Regions from separate parts of the Homo sapiens genome. Here region 2 is linked to region 1. The links are contacts of gene promoters, found by promoter capture Hi-C in human tissues and cell types (Jung and others, 2019). All regions are on one chromosome and are shown on one strand. The core of a region is centred on a gene start or on the middle of the fragment in contact, and the rest is flanking DNA. Distances in the headings are between cores, read along the strand shown.

Region 1 (5,441 bases), core at 1-2,500:
CCCGGAGAAAACCCGGTCCCACCACCCAACCCTCCTTCCCTAGACACAGCCAGATCAGCCTGTGACCTCCAGGCTAATCTCCCCCACCCCCACAACTAATCCAGGATTTGCCCTTTCCCATCTCCAAGGATTTTATCTGCTTCCTCTGTGTTTCTTCTGGAAACCACCCCCCACCACTGCTTACCAGGTGCCGGGAAATTATGCTGTGAGAGGGTCAGGCCAAGCAGCTGGGCTGAGTCCCAGTCCAGGCGCCGCCATTCCCTGTGACTCTGAGGAACGCCTGCCTCTCTCTAGGCCTCAATCTGGATAGAATGGGATGCAGGGTTGGTCTGGGGGATGTGCGGCACCCCCCTTCTCCAGGTAATGGGCATTCCAAAGGTGGAAGAGGTCCTGGGGAGAACTATCTGGGCCCCTCCCAGCACCGATCTGAAACCCTCTCGGTCCTGGGAGGATTATGGAAGGGAATTAACGCATCCATCTGCAGCTCAGACGAAAGTAGGAGACATGGGGTATCTTAGTAGGAGGAAGGGGCTGAGGAGAGAGAGATGCTTCCTGTTACCCACCCTCAGGCCCAAGATACTTGGCATCTCAAGTCGGGCTGGCACAGTGGAGCTGGGGTCAGAACAACACCTGCAGGCCGGGTGCGGCGGCTCGGGCCTGTAATCCCAGCACTTTGGAGGCAGAGGCGCGCGGATCACGAGGTCAGGAAATCGAGACCATCCTGGCTAACACGGTGAAACCCCGTCTCTACTAAAAATACAAAAAATTAGCCGGGCGTGGTGGCGGGCACCTGTAGTCCCAGCTGCTCGCGAGGCTGAGGCAGGAGAATGGCGTGAACGCGGGAGGCGGAGCTTGCAGTGAGCCGAGATTGGGCCACTGCACTAGAGCCTGGGCGACAGAGCGAGACTCGGTCTCAAAATAAATAAATAAATAATAAATAAAAATACCAAAAACTAGCCGAGCATGGTGGCAGGTGCCTGTAGTCCCAGTTACTCGGGAGGCTGAGGCAGGAGAATCGCTTGAACCCAGGAGGCGGAGGTTGCAGTGAGCCGAGATCATGCCACGGCACTCACTCCAGCCTGGACGACAGAGTAAGACTCCATCTCAAAAAACAAAAACAAAAACAAAAAGAGAGAATAACACTTGCACACCACCACCCTTCTCAGCTTGCCCTGCTCAGCAGCTGGCAGGGCCACTCGCTGGCTCTGAAAAACCGGCTGCTGCCTTCCCCAAAATGATGCCTTCTGAATGGCGAAGGGACAAAGTGTTTCAGGAGTGTGCATGGGGACACTGCTCAGCCCTCAAGAGCCTTGGCCTCGAGTCAAGTCGTGTTTGCTGGGCCACCGCTCTGGGAGCTGCTGCTTGGTCCAGGCCGTCCGGGGGGCAGGGGGGAGCAGTAAGTGCAGCTCAGGCTCCTGGTTCAGAGGGGTTAGGCTGGGTGAGGGGCAGGCAGATGACAGAACCACGAGGTTCACTAGAGGCAGGATGTGTTCCCAGCTGTCCTTAACCCTTCTGATGCAACTGCCCAACAAAGACAGATGCCTACCATGTGCCAAGAACACTGAGGTCCCCTCGGACTGGGCCAGCCATTCCCCTGGGAGCCCCCACAGAAGGCTTGTAGTAGAGACTCAGTGAAGCAGACTGTGTTTGCGTCCCAGATGTTCAGGCCTTACTTTCCCAGTCTGTAATTTGGGGCTAGCAGTAGGATCCCCTGTGAGCAGTAAATAAGATGAATGCTTCGCAGCTGATAAAGAGCTTGGCACCAGGCCTGGCGCTGAGTAAGTGCCTACCAACTGGTGAACAAGTTGTTCACCAAATGTTAGCAGGGGCTGTTCTGAGTGGAATATTATTTATTTATTTATTTTTTATTTTATTTATTTTTTTTGAGATGGAGTCTCGCTCTGTCACCCAGGCTGGAGTGCAGTGGCGCAATCTCAGCTCACTGCAAGCTCCGCCTCCCGGGTTCACGCCATTCTCCTGCCTCAGCCTCCCCAGTAGCTGGGCCTACAGGCGCCTGCCACCACGCCTGGCTAATTTTTTATATTTTTTAGTAGAGATGGGGTTTCACCGCGTTAGCCAGGATGGTCTCAATCTCCTGACCTTGTGATCTGCCTGCCTCGGCCTCCCAAAGTGCTGGGATTACAGGCGTGAGCCACCGCGCCCAGCTGGGTGGAATATAATTTAAACAATTTTTTTGAGCTTCCAAAATTGCTGTTACAATCAGAGAGAAGACCACCACAGTGGTTTTAGGCAGAGTGGAGAGCCCTGGGTGGGTGGGGGAGGGGGAGGGGAGAGGCCCAGCCTCCCACTAACTGTTCATTCTGCTCAACTTTGGGAAGTGGGTGGGCGGTGTTTCTACATGGTGGTTTTTTCCAAATGTAAACCAGCTCCAGATCGAACTCTCCTGCTCCAGGCGCTGGACAGCCTCAAGGCCAGGGTGGGGGCGGGAGTGGGGTCGGGGGGTGGTGGGAAGGGTACCAAACTGGGGGAGGGACCTCCACCACGGAAACAGAAAAGAAGGCCCCAGCCCGGCAGTCACAGTCCAGCTGCTCAGCCTGTCAGCCCATGGCAGGGGGAGAAGAGGGAGGGAATCTTGGCTCAGGCCTGAGTTCACCTGGAGGGGTCAGAGTCCCCGTGGAGGGAGGAGGGATAGACTCTGTCCAGTTGTAGAGGAGGTGCCCAAGCAGCCACCCAGGCCTCATCACTAAGGTCAAAGTCAGATATGATGGCCTTTCTTCCTCACCCAGTCTCCTGCCGCAGGGCGCCCACGTTGGCCCACCACAAGGATCCTTGGTCTGGGTGGAAGATACAAGGCCATTTATTGGGTACTAGCAGCCAGGTCCTCCACCAAAAACCCCATCTACCTACATAATCGCCATTGTTCCTTGAACAGTCCTGCAAGTGTGCCATTACCTTCCTGATTTTACAAATGAGAACACTGAAGCCCCACATCAAACACGGCAGAACTGGCATCTGGAAGCAGCTGTCTCAGCCTCTGCCCTTTACCACACTACCTCCCAAAGGCCCCCAAAGGGGCTGGGAGCTGAGGCAGGCTTCCCCACGATGACTCTCAGCCCCACCTCTGTAGACCACTTGGGACTCACTGTTGGAATTGCAAGGGACCTTTGAGAGCACAGAGTGGAAATTCCCATTGTCCACATGGGGATACAGAGGCCACTGGAGAAGGGATCTGCCTAGCTTCATGCACATCCTGTCCCATGAAGCTGGGACAAAGGCCCAGGACTACTGGTTCCCATTCCAGTGCCCTCCTCTCCCATCCCCACCCATCAAAACTCATGAGGGGCCAAGCACGGTGGCTCACGCCTATAATCCCAGCACTTTAGGAGGCTGAGGTGGGTGGATCTCTTGAGCTCAGGGATTCGAGACCAACCTGGGCAACATGGCAAAACCCCGTCCCTACAAAAAATACAAAAATTAGCCAGCACGGCTGGGCGCAGTAGCTCATGTCTGTAATCCCAGCATTTTGGGAGGCTGAGGTAGGTGGATCAGAAGGTCAGGAGATCAAGACCAGCCTGGCCAACATGGTGAAACCCTGTCTCTACTAAAAATACAAAAATTAGCTGGGCATGGTGGCAGGCACCTGTAGTCCCAGCTACTCGTGAGGCTGAGGCAAGAGAATCACTTGAACCTGGGAGGCGGAGGTTGCAGTGAGCCGAGATCGAGCCACTGCATTCCAGCCTGGGTGACAGAGTAAGACTCTGTCTCAAAAAAAAAAAAAAAAAAAAAAAATTAGCCAGCATGCCCCTGTGGTCCTAGCTACTTGGGAGGCCGAGGTGAGATCACCTGAGCCTGGAGAGGTCAAGGCTGCAGTGAGCCGTGATCACGCCACTATATTCCAGCAGTGCACTCTAGGTGACAGAATGAGACCCTGTCAAAAAAACAACAACAACAAAAAAACCCCCTCATGAGTGCCCAACCACAGGTGAGTAGGATGACAGAGATTGTGCTGGCTATGGGATCCCCAGCCCAGGTCACAGCCTGTTACCTAGCAGGTGCTGCGTCCAGCTTACAAGCTCCAGTAACTGCCTCCAAAGGCACAGAGTCTCATGGGGCAGGAGATGAGCAGAGTTAACTCTCCTGTAGGTGCCCAAGCAACGTTCCACACGGCCCGGCAGGCTTCAGAGAAGTGAGGGAAGCGTCCTCCCATGACACAAAGACCTCCAAAGGCCACTTTCTGTTATAGATTTTATTTGATACTGTGACCGAGTCTACAAGTTCAGACCCACATGTAACGGATTTTTGCTTCATGGTTGTCAGAGGCTAGTGTGCATTATTTCTGAGGATTATATCCAATGACACGACGCAGAAAACACAAATGGACGGACAGACGGATGGACATAATCATTAAGACAAGAGACTCTAAAACGTGCCTTAGTGTCCACGTGATTGATCTAAGGCGGGGACCCTTCTAAGGTGGGGACCCGAGTGATCTAAAGCAGGGTGGCTTCCAGCCACCAGGTGCCGACTGGGCTGTGTGCACTCCAGGCGCCAGGGACGGGAACCGGCTTGGAACCAACGCCTGCCCTCCCAGGGGCGACCTCCCCATTCCCGACCAGCCTCTAAGTGTCTGCTCTTCATGAAGGACCAGGTGGTGACAGGGCTGATGGAAGCAGCGGAGGCCAGCGGTGGCACTGGACACACCCATGCCGCAGGCGGTGGGGAAACAAAGTCTGGGCGAAGTGGCTCCTCTTGGCTCCTTAACACTGTGCGTGGAGAGGCAGGGCAGGCACGAGGAGGGGAGGTGCGAATGGAGCACCGTTCATCCGGGGATTAGCCAACCCGAGTCTCCTCCCTCCTTGGCAGCTCCAGAACATTCCCTCTGGCCGACAGCCACAGAAATGAGTGCCTGCCAAGACACATGGAGGAGAAAGAAAACAAGACACCAAAAAAACCCAAAAAACAAACAAAAAAACCTCCCTCCCCAGGAACAAATAGAACTCCTGGACCAAGGTCACACCAGATCCGGAAGACACCCTGCACCCTGCGCCCAGGGAAAGGAAACACAGTTCAACGTCTGGCTGCTTTGCTCAAGGGAAACTGCCACCCTGCCCTGAGACTCCAACTCACTGGCCGTTAGTGTCTTTTTTTTTTTAAGTTTTTTTTTTCTTTTTAATACCCAAACCATCCATTTTCAAAGCTTTTTTTTTAAAAAAATTGTTTTTTGATTAAAAAAAAAAAAACAAAAAACTAAAACTGCCACAAATACTGAAGAGGCAAGCTCCAGGCCTGGCCTTTCCAGCTGGAGGCCTGCTCTCCCGTGGACCGCACCGCAGAGCCCAGCCCGGCACTGCTGGGTGACCGTCCCATGGCTGGTTCGCCCCGGACCACTCTGCTGAAGTCCAGGTGGGTGTTAAATGCCCGGCGGCATCGCTAAATAAGGACAAGGGGAAAAGGCAGCCCACCTTTCCCTGAACACCTTC
Region 2 (6,159 bases), core at 1,518-4,017, 230 kb after region 1:
CCGCGCGGGAGGTCGGGCGCGGGGCCGCGTCCGGCCGCACCATGTGGCGGCGGCGGCGGCTGATGGGAGCGAGGCATCATGGCGGAGCACAATAAAGAGAGGCTTCTCGGGAGGGAGGGAGGGGGAGGAGAGCGAGGGAGGGGGGAGAGGAAGGGGGGGTCTCCTCCGCCCGCGCCGAGCAGGCCGCAGCGCCCCCGCCTCGCAGCGCGGCCGCCGCGGCGCGGGCCACCCAGGCCCCCAGCCCAGCCGCGCACAAAAAAGGGCGCCGAGTCCGCGGGCCCCCGCCCGGCCGCGCCGCGCCCCCCCGCCCGGCGCCCCCCGCGCGCGCCCCGGGCCCCGCCGGCGGCCTGCGGGCCGGGGCGGGCGGCGAAGATGGCGGCGCGGGCCGGCCCCCGGGCTCGCTGCTCTCACCTGAGGTCTCGTCGGCCCCGTCGTGGTTGGAGTTGAGCTCCTTTTTACTGACTTTGGCCGCCGGCGCCGACATGGTGCTGCTCCGCGGTCGGGGGGGGAGCGGGGAGGGGGAGAGAAGGGAAGGCGAAGGGGGCGGGCAAGCGGCTTCCCCTCACGCCACACGCGCGGGCGCCCGCTCGGTCCGGCCGCCTCCTCCCGGCGCTCGCTCGCTCTCCCTCCCCCTCGCTCGCTCGCGCGCGCTACCCTCGCGGCCTGACGCCGAGGGACGGGCTGGGGCGGCGTGCCGGGCCCCGGCCCGGGCTCCTGTTCGCGGAGGGGAGGCGGAGGCGGCGGCGGCGGGCGGCTCGGCTCCCTCACTCGCGCTCGGCGATCCAGCCAGCTCGCTGCTCGCTCTCCCGAGCCGCCTCCTCCTCCACCTCCTCCTACGGCGAGGGGCGGGCGCAGGGCGCAGGCGCGCCAGGCCCCGCGCGGATGCTCCGCCTCCGGCCGGGGAGGCTCGCGCCGCGGCGCCATTGGCCTGGGCGGCGGGATGAGGGGGCGGAGTCGCGGCGCGGAGACACAGGGCCCGGCGAGAGGTGGGAGGAAGGCGCGCGGCGACGCACGGCCGCCCCCCGCGCCGCGTCCCCTCCCCCGCTCTCCCCTCTCCGGCCCGACCCAGGACACTGGCGCGCGGCAGGCCGGTGGGCGGGGCGTCGCACGGAGGCGCGGGTGCCCCCGGCCGGCGCGTCACGTGGTGAGCGAGCGGCTTCCCTGCTCCGCGGGGCACCGGGAGCGGGGCGCCCACCACCCCGAAAGTGCAGGCCCGGCCTCGTATGGGGGCCCCGAATTCCGCCCGGCCTCTCGGCGCCTTCCACTTCGTGGAGAAAGCAGGGGGCACCCCATTCTGGATGCCAGATGGGGAACTGCCGATCGGACTCAAACTCGGGCTCGTGTGCGAAGCCCCAGGCTGTGTAATCCGCGCGCAGGGCCATTCCTGGGTTTTAGTCCAAGCCCTGCCCAGCAAGCTTGTACCCTTGAGCAAGTCACCCTTCCTCTCTGAACCCGTTTCTGTTATGAAATGATAAAGGTTACGACACTGAAGCCACATTAAACTCGAAGTCCTGTGAAGGCAGGGAGGTACCACATTAGTCCGCGGTGCCCAGCGCCCGCAAGAATCATACTGAGCGTTAAGTGCCAGTTTCAGCAGCGCATGGCACGGTTATCTCACCGAGGCCTCACAACAGCCCCAAGCGATAGGCGGTGTTCTGTTCATAGAGATGAAAGGGGCCAACAAGTTCTACTTGAGAGGCAAAGTTCTGAACCACTAAGGAGGGCCAAAGCATTTTGTTTAAATAATACTTTTCAAGTAATGCGGATGCCCCACATTCTGTCCCTCCAGCACCCCAAGACATGAACCATAAAAAGCCAGAAAAACCCTGATTAGTAGCATTTGTTTGTTTGTTTTGAGACGGGAGTCTTGCTCTGTCCCCCAGGCTGGAGTGCAGTGGCGCAATCTTGGCTCACTGCAAGCTCTGCCTCTCGGGTTCAAGCAATTCTCCTGCCTCGGCCTCCCGAGTAGCTGGGGCTACAGGCACGTGCCACCATGCCCGGCTAATTTTTGTATTTTTAGTAGAGATGGAGTTTCACCACCTTGGCCAGGCTGGTCTACTGACCTGGGGTGATCCACTCACCTCGTCCTCCCAAAGTGCTGGGATTACAGGCGGGAGCCACTGCGCCCGGCCAGTACCATTTGTTGATTTTAGTGATACGCTGGCCAATTTCAAATCCTGGCCATGCAATAGCTCACTCCTGTTATCCCAACACTTTGGGAGGCCAAGGCAGGAGGATCGCTTGGGCCCAGGAATTCCAGGCTTCAATGAGCCCCAATGCAGCCACTGCACTGAAGCCTGAGTGACAGAGCAAGACCCTATCTCTAAAACAAAAACAAAAAAATACCTGAAATCTCTCTTTGGACATTTTTAACCAGAACTTGGGGTTGGAATTCTGCCTTCCAGAACTCACACTTTACCATTGGCTCTTTTTTTTTTTTTTTTTTTTTGGTGGGGGAGGGGACCAAGTCTCATTCTGTCTTCCAGGCTGGAGTGCAGTGGTGCCATCTCAGCTCACTGCAACCTCCGCCTCCCGGGTTCAAGTGATTCTCCTGCCTCAGCATCCTGAGTTGCTAGGATTACAGATGTGAGTCACCACGCCCTGCTAATTTTTGTATTTTTTGGTAGAGACAGGTTTTCACCATGTTGGCCAGACTGGTCTCAAACTCCTGACCTCAGGTGATCCACCTGCCTCTGCCTCCCAAAGTGCTGAGATTACAGGCATGAGCCACTGAGCTCGGCCCACTATCAGCTCTTAAAGCTCAAGCAGCATCTTTCATGTTCAAGACAGTGCACGGTGAGTGTCTTAGCCTCCCGAGTATCTGGGATTACAGGCGCCCACTACCATGCCAAGCTAATTTTTGTATTTTTTAGTAGAGACGGGGTTTCACCATGTTGGCCAGGCTGGTCTCGAACTCCCGACCTCAGGTGATCTGCCCACCTCGGCCTCCCAAAGTGCTGGGACTACAGGCATGAGCCACCCACTGTGCCTAGCATAAACTAAACTTTGTTGCAAGTGACAGAACCAAGATTCTAAACCAAGTAGCAATTGACAAAGCCCTTACCTTAAAACAGTTTTTCTATTTTTATTGTTGTTATTATTATGAGACAGGGTCTCTCTCTGTCGCCCAGAACCATGGCTCACTGCAGCCTTGACCTCCTGGGCTCTGGGGATTCTTACACCTCAGCCTTCTGAGTAGCTGGGACCACAGGCAAGCACCACTGCCACCTTGCCTGGCTAATTTTGTTTTTATCTTTTGTAGAGAGGAGGTATCACCATGTTGCCCAGGCTGGTCTCAAACTCCTGAGCTCAAACCATCCTTCAGCCTCAGCCTTCCAGAGCTCTGGGATTACAAGAGTTAGCCATCGCACCCTGCCTCAGTTTTTTTAATGTGACCAACAGTCAGAAGTACTTTTGACATCATGACCTAGCACACACAAACCAAAACTTACCCTTACCAAGGGTGATGTGATTCTAATTTCCTATTTAAAATGCAGGTCACACCCCACCAAATTGATTTCACGACCCGCTCCTGGGCTGAGTCTGTCTGAGAACACTATGCCAAGGGCTGGCTGCTTCCATCCTCAAAGCCTGACCCATAGGGTCACTCCTGACCCACAATGTCTCCTAAGTGCCTTATCTGCCTGTTTCCCAAGCACCTGCAGGGGTCCCAGGGAACCCTGTAATGCCTTCTGATGGGGGAGTGGGCTTTCAGGTTCCCTTTCTGGCCTCCCAACCCTCCCTGCCACCTCCCTGCCCCTCTTTTCCTGCCCTTCCCCACACAGTGCTTCTCAAGATAAATATGAGCACACTAGGAAGTTGAAGAGAAAGAGAAAGCAAAAGGGCCAGGGGTGTGAGTAAACACAGGCGAGCCGGGGGCACACTGAGAGGTTATTCACCCACTCTTAGGACTCTGCTCTCTCCCCGTCTCCAACACCAGAAGCTCTGCATTCTCTCTTCTTGGCCTCTCCCCTCACTCAGAATTCCTCCCTTGCCTCTCTCCTCTCCTCCTGGCCCCTCTGGTTGTTTTTTTTTTTGTTGTTGTTGTTGTTGTTCTTGTCGCCCAGGCTGGAGTGCAATGGCACGAACTCGGCTCATTGCAACCTCCGCCTCCGGAGTTCAAGCAATTCTCCTGCCTTAGCCCCCCAAGTAGCTGGGATTACAGGCATGCATCGTCACGCCTGGCTAACTGTCTTTGGTAGAGATGGGGTTTAGCCATGTTGGCCAGGCTGGTCTTGAACTTCTGACCTCAGGTGATCTGCCCACCTCGGCCTCCCAAAGTGCTGGGATTACAGGCGTCAGCCACCGCGCCCGGCCCCCGGCTCCCTTTGAAGAGGACAGAACCCCACCGCCAGAAAGACTGGAACAGAGAGAGGCTGGCATTCCCCCACAGTGCTGCAGTGTCCCAAGCACAGACCAAAAAATCTCCAGAGCCTGGAACATCTCCCCCGCCACAGACACATACACATCTCTTTGAGCCTCCTGTTCTGATCTGTAAAATTGGGATGTCCACAGCATACGGCTGTGAGGATAGAGAAGTGCTTGGCACAGCTTCTGGCATGCCATCAGTGCCTACTAAGCAGCAGGAGCTGTTCTTTGGGTTTAGATGAACCCCCTCACACCTTTCCATCCCTTCCAGTCCTGTTAATGCTCCCAGGAAGCTCACTGGAAGGAAACTAGGAAGACTCACCCACATTTTGCTGCGCACAAATGCACTCTAGAGCACTGATGATGTGCTAGGCGCTGTCTAGTGCTCCCCTTAGATTTCAGACTCACAGCAAGCCTGGAGATCAGTACTGTGGATCCCATTTTATAGAAGAGAAAACAAGCACAAGTTGTTTTATGTGGCTCACCCAGCAAGGTAGGTTTCAAGCTGGGCAGGAGGTCTCTGCATCCCATGTGGAGGAAAAGGGACTGAGACCCAGTAAAAGTGCCAACAGGTCCACACTGAGCCCTGAGGTAGGACTCCTCCTCAGTGCTTCTTCCATAAGAGTTGCCTGCCCTCAGCCAATCAAAGCTTCCCGTTTCCTTGCAGGCCCTGGGCCTATCCACACCCAGCCCAGGAAGGCTCCACCACAACCCTCCCCTATGAGCCAGACCTAGTCACCAGAACAGTCAACTCTCTATCCAGCTCCAGCTACGTCTCCCAAAATGCAGCCCTCACCTCTAAGTTTAATGGGGGGAAGGGCAGGCATGAAACTGCTGGTTACAATGTAATGACAAGAGGGTGAGGCAGCATGACTCTGGGACTCCTAACTCCCAAGTGTTGGGGCTCACAGATTGCCCACAGGAAGTGACTTTCCAGCAGAGAGCTGGAGGTGGTGCACAGGTAAGGAGAGGAAAGGGCAAGTGGGTGTCTAGGCCCCGAGATCAGAGGGTAGAGTCCCAAGAGGTCAAGGTGAAGGGTACCACCTTGAGGGAGGCCTCCAGGTGGGGAGTCTCAGAAGTGTGAACCAGGAGAGGTCGGCGGGGACCGGGTTGGCGGGCCAGAGAAGTTTCTGAGCACCTGGAGGACGCGGGGAGGCAAGGGAGGGGTTTAAGCCGGGGAGTGGGCCACGTGATTGGCTATGCTCAGGCTGAAGGGGAGGAGGAGGAAGCTGGAAGCCAAGATGAGGAGGTGGCAGAGATTCAGGCCAGAGTTGTGGGCCGCCGTCGGCAGCAAGAACAGAGAGAGAGGTGGACAGATCTGAGAGATACTGAGGTAGAACCACCAGGAATCGGGGATTTGGCTGGATGTGGAGGGGTGAAGGAGGGGCCTCAGGCTGGCTGGCAGTGCCCCTTGCCAAGAAAGGGAGCCCCAGAGGAGGAAGTTTGGGGGCTGGGGAGACAAGCTCAGGGGTCAGTGTTGAGTTGGGGGCAGGGATGAGCTCCCGTGCACTCCCGTTCTCCCAGTCTAGTCCCTTCTGGTTCTTCACGCAAACTTAATCCACCATCCCAGGTTTAAAACCCTTTGGGGGTGCTTAGGGGTCACATCTCAAGAGGGATTGGGGGGTAAAAATCAGAGAGTCAATCCTTGCAAATCCCTTAAATCTCCAATAAAACTTAGCGCAGAAACGTACCTCCCTTCTTCGGCAAGCCTGCAGAGGCCGATGTCTCCTCCGGTCCCAGAGCAGGAGGTGGTCTTGGTTTCTTCTTTTGAGGCGGGAGTGGAGACTGGCG

Evidence for each region. The method cuts DNA at HindIII sites, captures the fragments that hold promoters and counts their contacts. A contact is called where the count stands out against the background at its distance.
Region 2: a contact is called between a fragment that was not itself captured here and the fragment with the promoter of PHYHD1 in region 1, in 2 of the 25 tissues and cell types used here (dorsolateral prefrontal cortex and lymphoblastoid cells).

Annotation. Positions count from the first base shown.
Region 1 is chr9:128,916,791-128,922,231 of GRCh38, reverse strand. It overlaps PHYHD1 (phytanoyl-CoA dioxygenase domain containing 1), which reads right to left and starts at 1,250. Exons shown (of 13, transcript NM_001100876.2): 1 at 564-1,250; 2 at 185-302. LRRC8A (leucine rich repeat containing 8 VRAC subunit A) reads right to left here. Exons shown (of 4, transcript NM_019594.4): 4 at 4,193-5,441. The HindIII fragment of the contact is 13,888 bases long and covers 1-5,441 here.
Region 2 is chr9:128,683,908-128,690,066 of GRCh38, reverse strand. SET (SET nuclear proto-oncogene) reads right to left here and starts at 845. Exons shown (of 8, transcript NM_003011.4): 1 at 412-845. The coding sequence starts at 484. It also overlaps a transcript of DYNC2I2 not described here. RefSeq lists silencers at 1-95, 476-1,385 and enhancers at 1,672-2,548, 3,899-3,998, 4,039-4,128, 5,334-5,423, 5,837-6,159. The HindIII fragment of the contact is 6,109 bases long and covers 1-5,821 here.